Linked DNA regions of Homo sapiens: region 1 is linked to region 2. The links are contacts of gene promoters, found by promoter capture Hi-C in human tissues and cell types (Jung and others, 2019). All regions are on one chromosome and are shown on one strand. The core of a region is centred on a gene start or on the middle of the fragment in contact, and the rest is flanking DNA. Distances in the headings are between cores, read along the strand shown.

Region 1 (5,745 bases), core at 1-2,500, 1.9 Mb before region 2:
GAGCCTGAGCCCAACAGAGTCCTGGCCCCAGGTATGAAGCTGGTGGGAGGCTCCCACTTACCGTCAGGAAGGGGTTGCCCTCCAGGCTGAGTTCCTCGAGCTTGGGGAACTGGCACAAGGCAGTAACATCCCCCAGCTGGTTGTTGGCGCAGCGGAGGACACGCAGGTGGGACAGGCCCAGGTTGTCCGGCAGCGTCTCCAGGTGGTTGTTAGACAGGTCAAGCTCCTGCAGCTGCGTCAGGCGGCACAGGAGTTTGGGGTCCAGGTGCTCGGAAAGCAGCTCCAATCCTGACAGGCTGGAGTTGGGGGCAGAAGGCTTAGGGGGCGGGCAGGCTTTGCACCCTACACCAATCTGCCCCGGGTACCTCAGAAGGCTTTTTCACCTGACATTTCTCGTACAAGTGTAGCCGCCCCGCCCATCCCCCCGTTACTTTATTTTTAGAGACGGGGTGTCACTCAGTCGCCTAGGCGCGATCATAGCTCACAGCTGCCTCCAACTCCTGGGCTGAGGGATCCTCCCGCCTCAGCCTCTCGAGTAGCTGGGACTAGAAGCGCGCGCCACTACTCCCGACTCCACACCACTTAACAAAAAAAAAAAAAAAAAAAAAAAAAAAAAAAAAAAAGCTGCAACTACTTTAGGACTCGGGGGCATCCTAGCCCCCTCTAGGATGCTCTTCCTGATCCTTCGGGGGCTCGTCTGTGCTTCCCAGGCCCTCTAACGATAGCGGCAGGCTGTGCCCCTAACTGTCCGGGCTCCCTTCAGGGGATGAGGCCCCTCGGGGCTCCCGGCGAGCGGGTGGGGCCACGATCTCCCAACAAGAAGACATTTGGACCACTCTGCCGAACCCAGAGGGCGATAACGGGGACAAGCGGGCCGTTGGGGAGGGTCCCCGCTCTTCTCCCCGACCGCCCGGCCCCGAGGACACAGCCTCACCCGCTGCCCGGCTCTTACTCCAGACTCCGGATCTTCCCCAGCCGGTCGCTCTTGGGGCGCCCGCGCTGCATTAGCAGCCGCGCCGAGAGGGGGCCCATGGCGAGGAGGCGCAGCCCGCGCTGACCCAGTCGGCCACCCCGGCGTGTGGCGTCGCCCTGCGTCTCCTGGAGCCCGGCACTGGCGTCCGCGGTAACTGAGCCCAGGAGGCGGCGCCGCGCGAGCCCGTGGGCGTTAACGACCGGAAGGAAGCGGAACCCAGGCCTCGTGCCCCCGCCCGGCGCGGACTACAACTCCCAGCGGCCCCCACGGCCGCGCCTGCGCACTGGCCACGCGGACGGCGCGATGGCGGCGGCTGCCGCCGAGACCCCCGAAGTCCTTCGGGAATGCGGTTGCAAGGGCATCCGGACCTGTCTGATCTGCGAGCGGCAGCGCGGCAGTGACCCGCCCTGGGAGCTGCCCCCAGCGGTAAGGGGTGGGAGAGGGGCCGCGCCCACAAACGTCGCTCTGCATCTGGGGAAACTGAGGTCCAGCTTGGCCATGATAGGGGCCGGGATCGAAGCCTGTGAGGGACCCTTACGGTAGGGGTGATGCAGGGTGAGGAGATGAGGGCTTTAAGGAGCGGGCTTGGGAGTGGGGAAGGAGCTGGAACGTGGGTGGGTTCGATTACAGGTCACCTCGGGGACTCTGGGGGGATCTGCCTGTAAACCTCGACGTAGCCTCTCGGGTCTGGCGCTGGGAGCTTCACGGGCCTGCAGGGAGATGACACGGAAAGGGTCGATCGAGGGTGCTGAATACCAGTCCAACGGTGCCTGAAGGCCGTGGACTGCAATGGGCAAGGAGACAGTGAATTCCAGTTAACTAACGAAAAGGAACTCAAGGATCGCTGCAACCCAGGAGCTGGAGGCTGCAGTGAGCTATGATCGAGCCACCTCACTTCAGCCTGGGCGACAGAGCGAGACTCTGTCTCACAAAAAGAAAATAAATAAAAAAAGAAAAAGAACTCAGCGCCTTTGGGCTGGCATGGAAGGACTGTGGTTGGTTGCAAGGGCATTCCAACCCAGAAAACTGCGTGGGGTAGGAAGGTGGATTGGTGATGCCTCAGGTGAGAGAGATGAGGCTGGAGAGGTTGTGGGGGGGGGGAGGTCTGATCACAGATGCTCCCCGGTGCATCAGCTGAGCAGGCTGGACTTGTCCCAAAGGCCCTGGAGAGCTCTTGAAGGGTTTTAAAGGAGTGATGAAGTCAAATGTGAATTTTAGAAAGATCCTGGGAAGGGAACGGGCAGATATGAAGGTGTGGAGGCTGGTAAGCCAGTGAAGACTGCCCCAACGTCCATGGTAAAAGTGCCCAAGGTCCTATGGAAACAGCATGGCATGCCTCATGAATTAAACATAGAATTACCCATGATCCGCAATCCTGCTTCTGGGTATATATCCAAAGGAACTAAAAGCAGGGTCTGGAAGAGATATTTGCACACCCATGTTCATATTCACGACATTATTCATGACAGCCCAAAGATGGAAGCAAACCAAGCATCTATCAAGATACCTGGGCCGGGTTCAGTGGCTCACGCCTGTAATCCCAGCACTTTGGGAGGCTGAGGTGGGCAGATCACCTGAGGTCAGGAGTTTGAGACCTGCCTGGCTAACATGGCGAAACCCTGCCTCTACTAAAATTACAAAAACTTGCCGGGCTTGGTGAGGCACATCTGTAATCCCAGCTACTCGGGAGGCTGAGGCAGGAGAATCGCTTGAACCCAGGAGGCAGAGGTTGCAGTGAGCCAAGATCGCACCACTGCACTCCAGCTCAGGTGACAGAGCAAGACTCCTTCTCAAAAAAAAAAAAAAAAAAAAAAAAAGAGATGACTTGATCCACAAAATGTGGTGCATACACATAGTAGAATACTATTCAGCCTTAAAAAGGAAGGACAGGCCGGGCACAGTGGCTCACACCTGTAATTCCAGCACTTTGGGAGACCGAGGCAGGCAGATTGCCAGAGCCCAGGAGTTTGAGACCAGCATGGGCAACATGGTGAAATCCCACCTCTACAAAAAAATTAACCATACATGGTGACACGTACCTGTAGTCCCAGCTACCCAGGAGGCTGAGGTGGGAGGGTTGCTTGAGCCTGGGAGGTCAAGGCTGCAGTGAGCTGTGATCACGCCACTGCACTCCAGCTTGGGCAACATAGTGAGACCCTGTCTCAAAAAAAAAAAAAAAAAAAAGGACATTTTGACATATGTTACAGCATGGACGAACCTTGGGGACACGATGCTAAGTTAAGGAAGCAGTCACAGAAGACAAATACTGCATGATTCCTGTTGTGTGAGCTACGTAGGGTAGTCACAGGGACAGAAAGTAGAAGGGTTGTTGCCAAGGGCTCAGGAAGGGGAGATGGGGACCTGTTGTTTAATAGGGAAAGAGTTTCAGTTTTGCAAGATGAAAAAGTTCTGAATGGTGGTGACGGCTGTACAACAATATGAATGAACTTAAGAGTTTTAATTTGTGGAAGGGGCCAGGTGCGGTGGCTCATGCCTATAATCCCAGCCCTTTGGGAGGCTGAGGCAGGAGGCTCGCCTGAGTCTAGGAGTTTGAGACCAGCTTGGACAACATAGCAAGACCCTGTCTCTACAAAAAATTTAAAAATTAGCTAGGTGTGGTGGTGTGTGCTTGTAGTCCCAGTTACTTGGGAGGCTGAGGTGGGAGGATTGCCTGAGCCCAGGAGGTCAAGGCTGCAGTGAGCTGTGAGCGCCACTACACTCCAGCCTGAGTGACAGAGCGAGACCCTGCCTCAAACAAAAAAAAAGAAAAGAAAAAAATTGCGGAAAGTCTGACCCGTTCCAGTGGCCATGTGGAGGTGACATCTTCCCAACCCGATGGCTATGGAACAAGGAGAGTGAGGTATCCAGGATCTCAGGGCACTGGGGCAGTTCCTCACTGGCTTTCCAGCCTCCACCCTTCATATCTGCCCCTCCCCCCTCCAGATCTTTCTAAAATTCACATTTGACCTCGTCACTCCTTTAAAACCCTTCAAGAGCGCTCCATGGCCTTTCGGACAAGTCCAGCCTGCTCAGCCGACACACGGGGGACTCCCAGTTTTAATGTTTCCCGTGGGAGGGCCCCAGGAGCAGGAGGAGATAGTGCCAATCTCAGGAGGGGTCTGAGCTGGAGTCGGTGGCTGGAAGTAAAGCATTGGAAGGGGCTGAGGTCCCTGGAGGGAAGAACAGAGAAAGACAGCGGCCCACAGTGAGTGGCAGCCCAGGGTGTGAGGAGCCTGGAGATGGAAGAGGAAGAGGAGACAGGCCACAGAGCCCAGGGCTGAGTTCTGGTGGCCTCCGAAGTCCTCACTGGGTGACTCCGGCCAGAACCTCCACACCTCCTGCCCATGATAGTTATGGTACCTTCCTCTTGGGGCTGTCCTGGGGATGAAACTAGATAATCCATGTAAAATGTTCAGTGCCACAGATGCAAATACTGGCTATTTCATTGGCGAAACTCTTTTTTAAAAATTTACTATTGGCTGGGCATGGTGGTTCACGCCTGTAATCCCAGCACTTTGGGAGGCCAAGGCGGGAGGATCACAAGGTCAGGAGTTCAAGACCATCCTGGTCAACATGGTGAAACCTCGTCTCTACTAAAATACAAGAAAAAAATTAGCTGGGCATGGTGGCGCGCACCTGTAGTCCCAGCTACTCGGGAGGTTGAGGCAGGAGAATCGCTTGAACCCAGGAGGTAGAGGTTGCAGTGAGCCGAGATCGTGCCACTGCACTCCAGTTCTGGTGACAGAGCGAGACTCCATCTCAAACAAACAAACAAACAAACAAAAAGTATTATTATTATTTTCAAGATGGGGTCTCACTGTGTCACCCAGGCTGGTGTCCACTAGCACGATCTTGGCTCACTGCAATCTCCACCTCCCGGGTTCAAGGGATTCTCCTGCCTCAGCCACCTGAGTAGCTGGGATTACAGGCATGCACCACGACGCCCGGCTAGTTTTTGTATTTTTAATAGAGACGGGGTTTTGCCATGTTGGCCAGGCTGGTCTTGAACTCCTGACCCCAGGTGATCAGTCCACCTTGGCCTCCCAAAGTGTTGGGATTACAGGTGTGAGCCACCGTGCCTGGCCTGGTTTCTAGACTTTCTTTAGCATGGGGGAACCCTTAGAGTACCGCCAGGCCTCGGGGTTGGTGGCAGAGCAGAGAGGGACATGGGGTGGGAGTTGAGTGACAGCCCAGGGTATGAGGATTGAGGGGTGATGCTGGGTCTGGAAAGGTGCCCTGAGGACAAGAGTGAGGAGAAGGGAGGTTGGGACACTGAGGAGCTCAACTGAACGCTCAGCTCTGTAGGGAAGTTGGCTGCCCTCCTAGGTGACCCTCACGCTGGTGATAGGCACGGGCCAACCCCTGGGACACCGGGGTGGCATCAGCAAAGACCTAAAGAGATTAGGGTGCACAGATTCAAGGTAGTCAGGCAGTTTGGGGCCTCCTGGAAGCAGCTGAGGAGATGGGAGTGCAGGAGGTGCTGTCCAGCCTCGGGCTGGTTCCTTAACTTTGCTGAGCCTCCTTTGTAAAATGGAGAAGGAAAAACATGTTGTACAAACCCTTCTCTTTTACAGGGGAGGAAAGTGAGAAAGGAAACCAATCAAATTCGTGTTAGCTCAAGAGGGCTGCGGGCCTTCCCCGGTCAGCCTGGGGCAGAGGCTCTGCCTGCACCTCCCCCTAGACTCCAGCTGCCTTCCACAGTGTCCTGAGGGGAGGAATGAGCCATCAGAGGGTCTCCTGAGGGCACACAAGTGCCAGGGGCTGCCATGGCT
Region 2 (5,778 bases), core at 3,258-5,757:
AGTCCCTGGTAAGTCCTAGGTGGGGAGGAAGGAAGCCCTGGGATACTGAATGCCCCTTCCCGGCCCCAGGCACCCCCTGCTTTCTGGCAGGAGGATGGGGGGCTGTTGTCCAGCATCAGGCTGACCAGATCCGCCTGGCTGGCCCCAGCCCTGCAGAGGATCTATTTCCGGGACATCGGTACGATGGTGGGCTGGACTCAGGCTTCCACAGCGTTGATAGTGGCAGCAAGAGGTGGTCTGGAAATGAGGTAAGGGCGTCCTGTCCATGGGTGATTGAGGGTGTCAGCCCTGGGAGAGCACCTCTGAACTGGGGACCTCCAAATTGCAGGGTGCCAGGCAGAGGCTGGAGCTGTCCTCTTCCTTCCCTCTGCCCAGCATCCCAGGGAAGGGCTGGCTCAGCAGAGACCCTGAGCTTAGTCCCACACAGGACCCCCCAGGTCCTGAGCCCCCATGTACAGAGAGGCCATCTCCCATCTCTGCCTCTGCCTTTACAGTCAACAGATGAATTTTCAGAGCTGTCATTCCGGATCTCAGAGCTGGCCCGGGAGCCCCGGGGACCCAGAGAACGCAAGGAGGATGGCTCAGGTGAGTAGCAGGGCTGGCCGGGAGCTGGGCTGGACCAGGGCCTGGGTCCCCGCTCACTTGCTGACATGCTGGCCTCCCCAGCGGACGGAGACCCTGTGCAGATTGACTTCATCGACAGCCATGTCCCCGGGGAGGATGAAGAGCGAGGCACTGTGGAGGTGAGAGCCCAGCTATGCCTCTCCCAAGGGAGGGGAGCTGGAGGAGGGGACAGGGCAGGCGTGGGCACAGGCCTGCCCTCAGCTGCTCTGCTGTTCTCTCCTTAGGAGCAGCGACCACCCGAATTAAGCCCTGGGGCAGGGGACAGGGAGAGGGCACCAAGCAGCAGGTACCCCAAGCCCCCAAACTGACGCCACTGCCCGATCCTCCCACCCCCCAACCGCCTCCTTCCCTGACCCCGGGGTCTGCCCCTCTTGCCCTGTCTTGGTCCCTCAGGCGGGAGGAGCCGGCAGGGGAGGAGCGGCGGCGCCCGGACACCTTGCAGCTGTGGCAGGAGCGGGAACGGCGGCAGCAGCAGCAGAGCGGGGCGTGGGGGGCCCCGAGGAAGGATAGGTGGGACCCAGGGCCGCCCGGGGCTGTTGCTGGACACTGAGCCCTGGAAATGGGGCCACCGAGCCCCGCTGAGCCGTTCTGCCTTGGGGCTAGCTGACCCCACCTCTCCTTGTTCCAGCCTCTTGAAGCCAGGGCTCAGGGCTGTTGTGGGAGGGGCCGCCGCCGTGTCCACTCAAGCCATGCACAAGTAGGTTTCCTGCCAGCATCCCCTCCCCACTCCTCTTCCTATGACCATCATCCCTCTAATTCCCTTCTGTCTCTCCTCAGCGGCTCGCCTAAGTCCAGTGCCTCCCAAGCAGGGGCTGCAGCGGGGCAGGGAGCCCCCGCCCCTGCCCCTGCCTCCCAAGAGCCCCTTCCCATAGCTGGACCAGGTGGGACAGGGATTTTGGGAGGAGGATGGGGCCTGTGTTGGTGAGGGCTGGTTGGGAGAGAGGGACACAGAGGGGATGCCTGTCTCACCTGCCCCTGTCGCTGTGTCCCTGGTTCCGGCCCCAGCGACAGCACCTGCTCCACGGCCACTTGGCTCCATTCAGAGACCAAACAGCTTCCTCTTCCGTTCCTCCTCTCAGAGTGGCTCAGGTGGGTGTCCTGCCCTCCCCAGTGCTGACCCAGTGCTTGCCAGCACCAACGGCTACATCACCCTTCTGCCCTGGGAGCCCTCTGGGTCTGTTGTACCTTTTGTACCTTTGCGTTGAAAATCCCACAAGCAAGCCGGGTGTGGTGGCTCACACCTGTAATCGCAGCACTTTAGGAGGCCCAGGTGGGAGGATCGCTTGAGCCCAGGAATTCAAGACCAGCCTGGGCAACATAGCGAGACCCCATCTCCATGAAATAAAAAAAAATCCCACAAGCAGAGAGGCAGGAGGTGTAGGTGCCAGGCCACTGGGACCCAGCTACAGAGTCAGTGGTGAGCAGTGGAGGCAGCCCCATGCCCCCCTTTTTCTCCTAGGCCCTTCCTCACCAGACTCTGTCCTGAGACCTCGGCGGTACCCCCAGGTTCCAGATGAGAAGGACTTAATGACTCAGCTGCGCCAGGTGAGCAGAGGCGGGAGCTGCGTGGGCAGGGGCCTGGGCCGGGCACCTCCTTGTGTTGCTGTCCTTGGGACCAGCCTCCCTCCACATCCTCTGTGCCCACTCTGGCACCTCCCCTGAGGACAGGAAGGGACAGGCACAAGTTCCCTGCTAGCCCTGAGCCCCCCACTCTCCCTGCCTCCCAGACGCCTCTCCTTCCCTGACCCCTGCTCTATGTGGTCTACACTGCCAGGTCCTTGAGTCCCGGCTGCAGCGGCCCCTGCCTGAGGACCTGGCCGAGGCTCTGGCCAGTGGGGTCATCCTGTGCCAGCTGGCCAACCAGCTACGGCCGCGCTCCGTGCCCTTCATCCATGTGCCCTCCCCTGCTGTGGTCAGTTGGGGCTGGGGAAGAGGTGGGGGATGGGCCGGGGCGCCTGTGGCCTCTCCCTTACCACATTTTCTTCTTTCACCCACCCCAGCCAAAACTCAGTGCCCTCAAGGCTCGGAAGAATGTGGAGAGTTTTCTAGAAGCCTGTCGAAAAATGGGGGTGCCTGAGGTATGGGGGCTGCTTTCTAAAGAGTGGTGGCATGCCGGACTCAGCCGAGCATGTGGCATGGATGGTGGGCTTCCATTTGCAGCGGATGTCTGCTCTCAGATGAAGGCACAGGCTGCCCCTGCCCTGCCCAGCATGCCCCCTGCCCTGCATGCCCCCTGCCCTGCATGTCACCTGTCCTACACATCCCCTGCCCTGCAGGCCCCATCTTGTCCTGCATGTCACCTGTCCTGCACATGCCCTGCCCTGCACTCCTCCTGCACTGCACTCCCCCTGCCCAGCACGTCAGCATGTGGGCGTGGTTCTGGCCCCAGCACGTGAGGGCAGGGGTGGGAGGGACTGTCCTGCTGCTGCTGCTGACGTCTGTCCCTTGTCCTTGTCCACCTGCTCTCCTCTCCCCCAGGCTGACCTGTGCTCGCCCTCGGATCTCCTCCAGGGCACTGCCCGGGGGCTGCGGACCGCGCTGGAGGCCGTGAAGCGGGTGGGGGGCAAGGCCCTACCGCCCCTCTGGCCCCCCTCTGGTCTGGGCGGCTTCGTCGTCTTCTACGTGGTCCTCATGCTGCTGCTCTATGTCACCTACACTCGGCTCCTGGGTTCCTAGGCCCCAAAATCGGCCCTCCCTCACCCCTTTCCCTTCCTCTCTATTTATAAGGTCCCTGCTCCACCCGACCCCACCTGCGGTGCCTTCAGCCCCAACCAAAGACACTAGTGCACCCCCTTCACAGACACTGACCTCAGAGGCCCCACTCTGGTGCCCCCAGACCCTGGGCCCCCAGCCTCTGGCCTCCCTCCAGTAGCCCCACGAGTCCCCACCTCTCAGTGCTGACGGTGCCTTCATGTCCCCGCCGGCCCTGCCCCTGCCCTCTGTACCCCGTGAGGGGTGGCAGGAGCTGGAGTCTCCCCCTTCCTCCTGTGCCCTCCCCTTCCCCCCCCAACAGCTGCTATGGGGGGGCTAAATTATCTCTATTTTGTAGAGAGGATCTATATTTGTAGGGGTTCGGGGCCCAGGCCGGGTCCCTATCTCTGTGTATAAACTGTACAGACCGTGGCCGCCCTGCCTGTGTGTGTGTGTGTGCGCGCGCGCGCGCGTCTGCTCCGCGTGTTGGTGGCTGTGGCCATGGCTCTGTGCCCACCAGCATCTCCCTCCTGAGATGCCGGCCTCTCATGCTCCCGGAGCGTCCGCCAACCCCCCGTGTCACCTCCCTTCTGTTATCGCTGACAGCTTTCTTGCGTCTCATTTGTCGCCGAGCCCCGAGCGCACGGTGATGCTCGGGTCTGCCCCCGACCCCCTGCCACAGGCCGGAAGCCGCAGGGGGCACCGTGGGGAAGCTAACCCGGCCCCTTCCCCCAGGAGTCACTGTGCCAGCCCCACCACATCCTGGAAGAGGAGGGGGCCCCGGGAAGGGGCCTCCCCTACATCGCTGCTGTCGTCCACGCCCTGCTGGACCGGCCTTAGGGGTGAAGGTGGGGGCACAGGGCCCACCCCGCCCGGGACCCCGGGAGCAGAAGACGCGCCTGGGCTCCGCGCTCTCAGAGAAGCACGTGGTGAGGGTGGCCTGGGCCTGGGCACCCTTGGCCTGCCGGCCTGGCTGCCTCTGGGGTCGAGGGTCTGGGTGGAAGGACCGCGGGTGTCGCAGGTGTCGTGTCAGCCGCAATAAACAGAAGCCAGAAGCCCTCTGGGTGGCCCTCAGGTGTAACTGTGTCTGAGAGCACGTGCGTCGCGGGGTTGTTGGGGGGGCCTCTGTTTCCGGAATTCACCGCCCAGTCGCCAGGGGGCGCCCGCGGGAGCCCGGCGGGGGCACGCGCCACGTGGCCGGGAGACGCACAGGGCGCCAGCGTCGCCGCGAGGCCTCTGGGGTGGGTTCGCCAGGAGGGCACGTTCGCGCCGCGCCGCGGAGGGAGGCTGAGAGGGCCGGGCCGGGCGGCGGGGACACGGCGGTACCGTCCTGCGCTCGGGAACGCGGAATGTTGCCCTGGTCGCCGCCGCGGTGGGGCGCGGGCCCGGAGGAGGCGCCCGAGGGACCAGGCCTTCCGGCGGGCAAGGACCAGGGCGAGCCCTGGAGCGCCGGAGCGGACGCCCCCAGGGAGCTGGGGACACCCCCATGGGACAGGTGAGGGGCTCGGACGGAGCCGTGGGGGGACAGCGACTGGGGGCCTCCATGCCTTCACCACGCGCTCTACGGAGGCTTCTCCATTGTCCCTGCTGGAGATTGGGTCCCTCGGTCTCCCTTGCACCAGGCACCCTTGGGCTCCAGGGGAGGGTGCGTGGGGGCGGTGTGGCTGCAGCCTCAGTCCCTGCCCCTCCAGCCCACAGCCCCCATCCCGTAGCCCTTCCTGGATCTGGAGAGAGCAGCTGCTGCTGCCCCACCACCTGCCAGGCCCGGCCACTGAGCAGCCCCCCGGAGCCCCAGGTAGGACAGGCCCTGCTGCCTCTACTACCCCTAAGAGCCTCTCACTGACTGTGAGCCTGTTATAATCCCCAAGCGTCCCCCCAGATCCCCGTTCCCCCCAGGTGGCCTGGGAGGTGGCCCCCTCGAGGATGACTCCACTAGCGCCCTGGGACCCCAAGTATGAAGCCAAAGCAGGACCTCGGCCGGTGTGGGTGAGTTGGGGGCAAACCTGTGGGACTGGCTGGGGTGCTCAGGGAGCTGTGCGGTGGCCTGAGGCTCCAGTGCTCTGTCCTCCTCACCCTAGGGGGCCAACTGTAGCTCAGGAGCCTCGTTCTCAGGCCGGACGCTGTGTCACCCCTCATTCTGGCCGCTGTATGAAGCAGCCTCGGGCAGGGGTCTCAGGCCCGTGGCCCCTGCCACAGGGCACTGGAATGGACAGCAGGCGCCCCCAGATGCAGGTACCTCCCTTGGTCCCCCGGGGGCGCAAGGCTGCCCCAACTCCTCTGGGAACCAGTGCCCAGGGGTGGGAGCCCGCAGCCCGCCACCCTAGTGGTGTTTCCTCCTAGGGTTCCCGGTGGTGTGCTGTGAAGATGTCTTCCTCTCGGACCCTCTGCTGCCCCGGGGGCAGCGTGTTCCCCTGTACCTGTCCAAGGCCCCCCAGCAGGTGAGAGCTCTTTCCCCTCCCTGTC

What was found. The method cuts DNA at HindIII sites, captures the fragments that hold promoters and counts their contacts. A contact is called where the count stands out against the background at its distance.
Region 1: the fragment with the promoter of ALKBH4 here is called in contact with the fragment with the promoter of SAP25 in region 2 in 1 of the 25 tissues and cell types used here (dorsolateral prefrontal cortex).

What each region holds. Positions count from the first base shown.
Region 1 is chr7:102,460,368-102,466,112 of GRCh38, reverse strand. It overlaps ALKBH4 (alkB homolog 4, lysine demethylase), which reads left to right and starts at 1,250. Exons shown (of 3, transcript NM_017621.4): 1 at 1,250-1,399. The coding sequence starts at 1,277. It overlaps LRWD1 (leucine rich repeats and WD repeat domain containing 1), which reads right to left and starts at 1,129. Exons shown (of 15, transcript NM_152892.3): 1 at 953-1,129; 2 at 62-296. The coding sequence starts at 1,032. It overlaps MIR5090 (microRNA 5090), which reads right to left and starts at 371; the gene lies at 287-371. RefSeq lists enhancers at 1-201, 479-578, 202-728, 858-1,507 and a silencer at 919-1,348. The HindIII fragment of the contact is 23,818 bases long and covers 1-5,745 here.
Region 2 is chr7:100,572,629-100,578,406 of GRCh38, reverse strand. It overlaps SAP25 (Sin3A associated protein 25), which reads left to right and starts at 4,507. Exons shown (of 6, transcript NM_001348680.2): 1 at 4,507-4,810; 2 at 5,007-5,110; 3 at 5,195-5,301; 4 at 5,394-5,547; 5 at 5,656-5,753. The coding sequence starts at 4,665. LRCH4 (leucine rich repeats and calponin homology domain containing 4) reads left to right here. Exons shown (of 18, transcript NM_002319.5): 6 at 1-8; 7 at 149-248; 8 at 495-585; 9 at 667-743; 10 at 849-910; 11 at 1,018-1,134; 12 at 1,253-1,321; 13 at 1,402-1,505; 14 at 1,630-1,713; 15 at 2,084-2,169; 16 at 2,399-2,536; 17 at 2,625-2,702; 18 at 3,103-4,396. The coding sequence ends at 3,300. RefSeq lists enhancers at 2,535-3,088, 3,089-3,643. The HindIII fragment of the contact is 26,041 bases long and covers 1-5,778 here.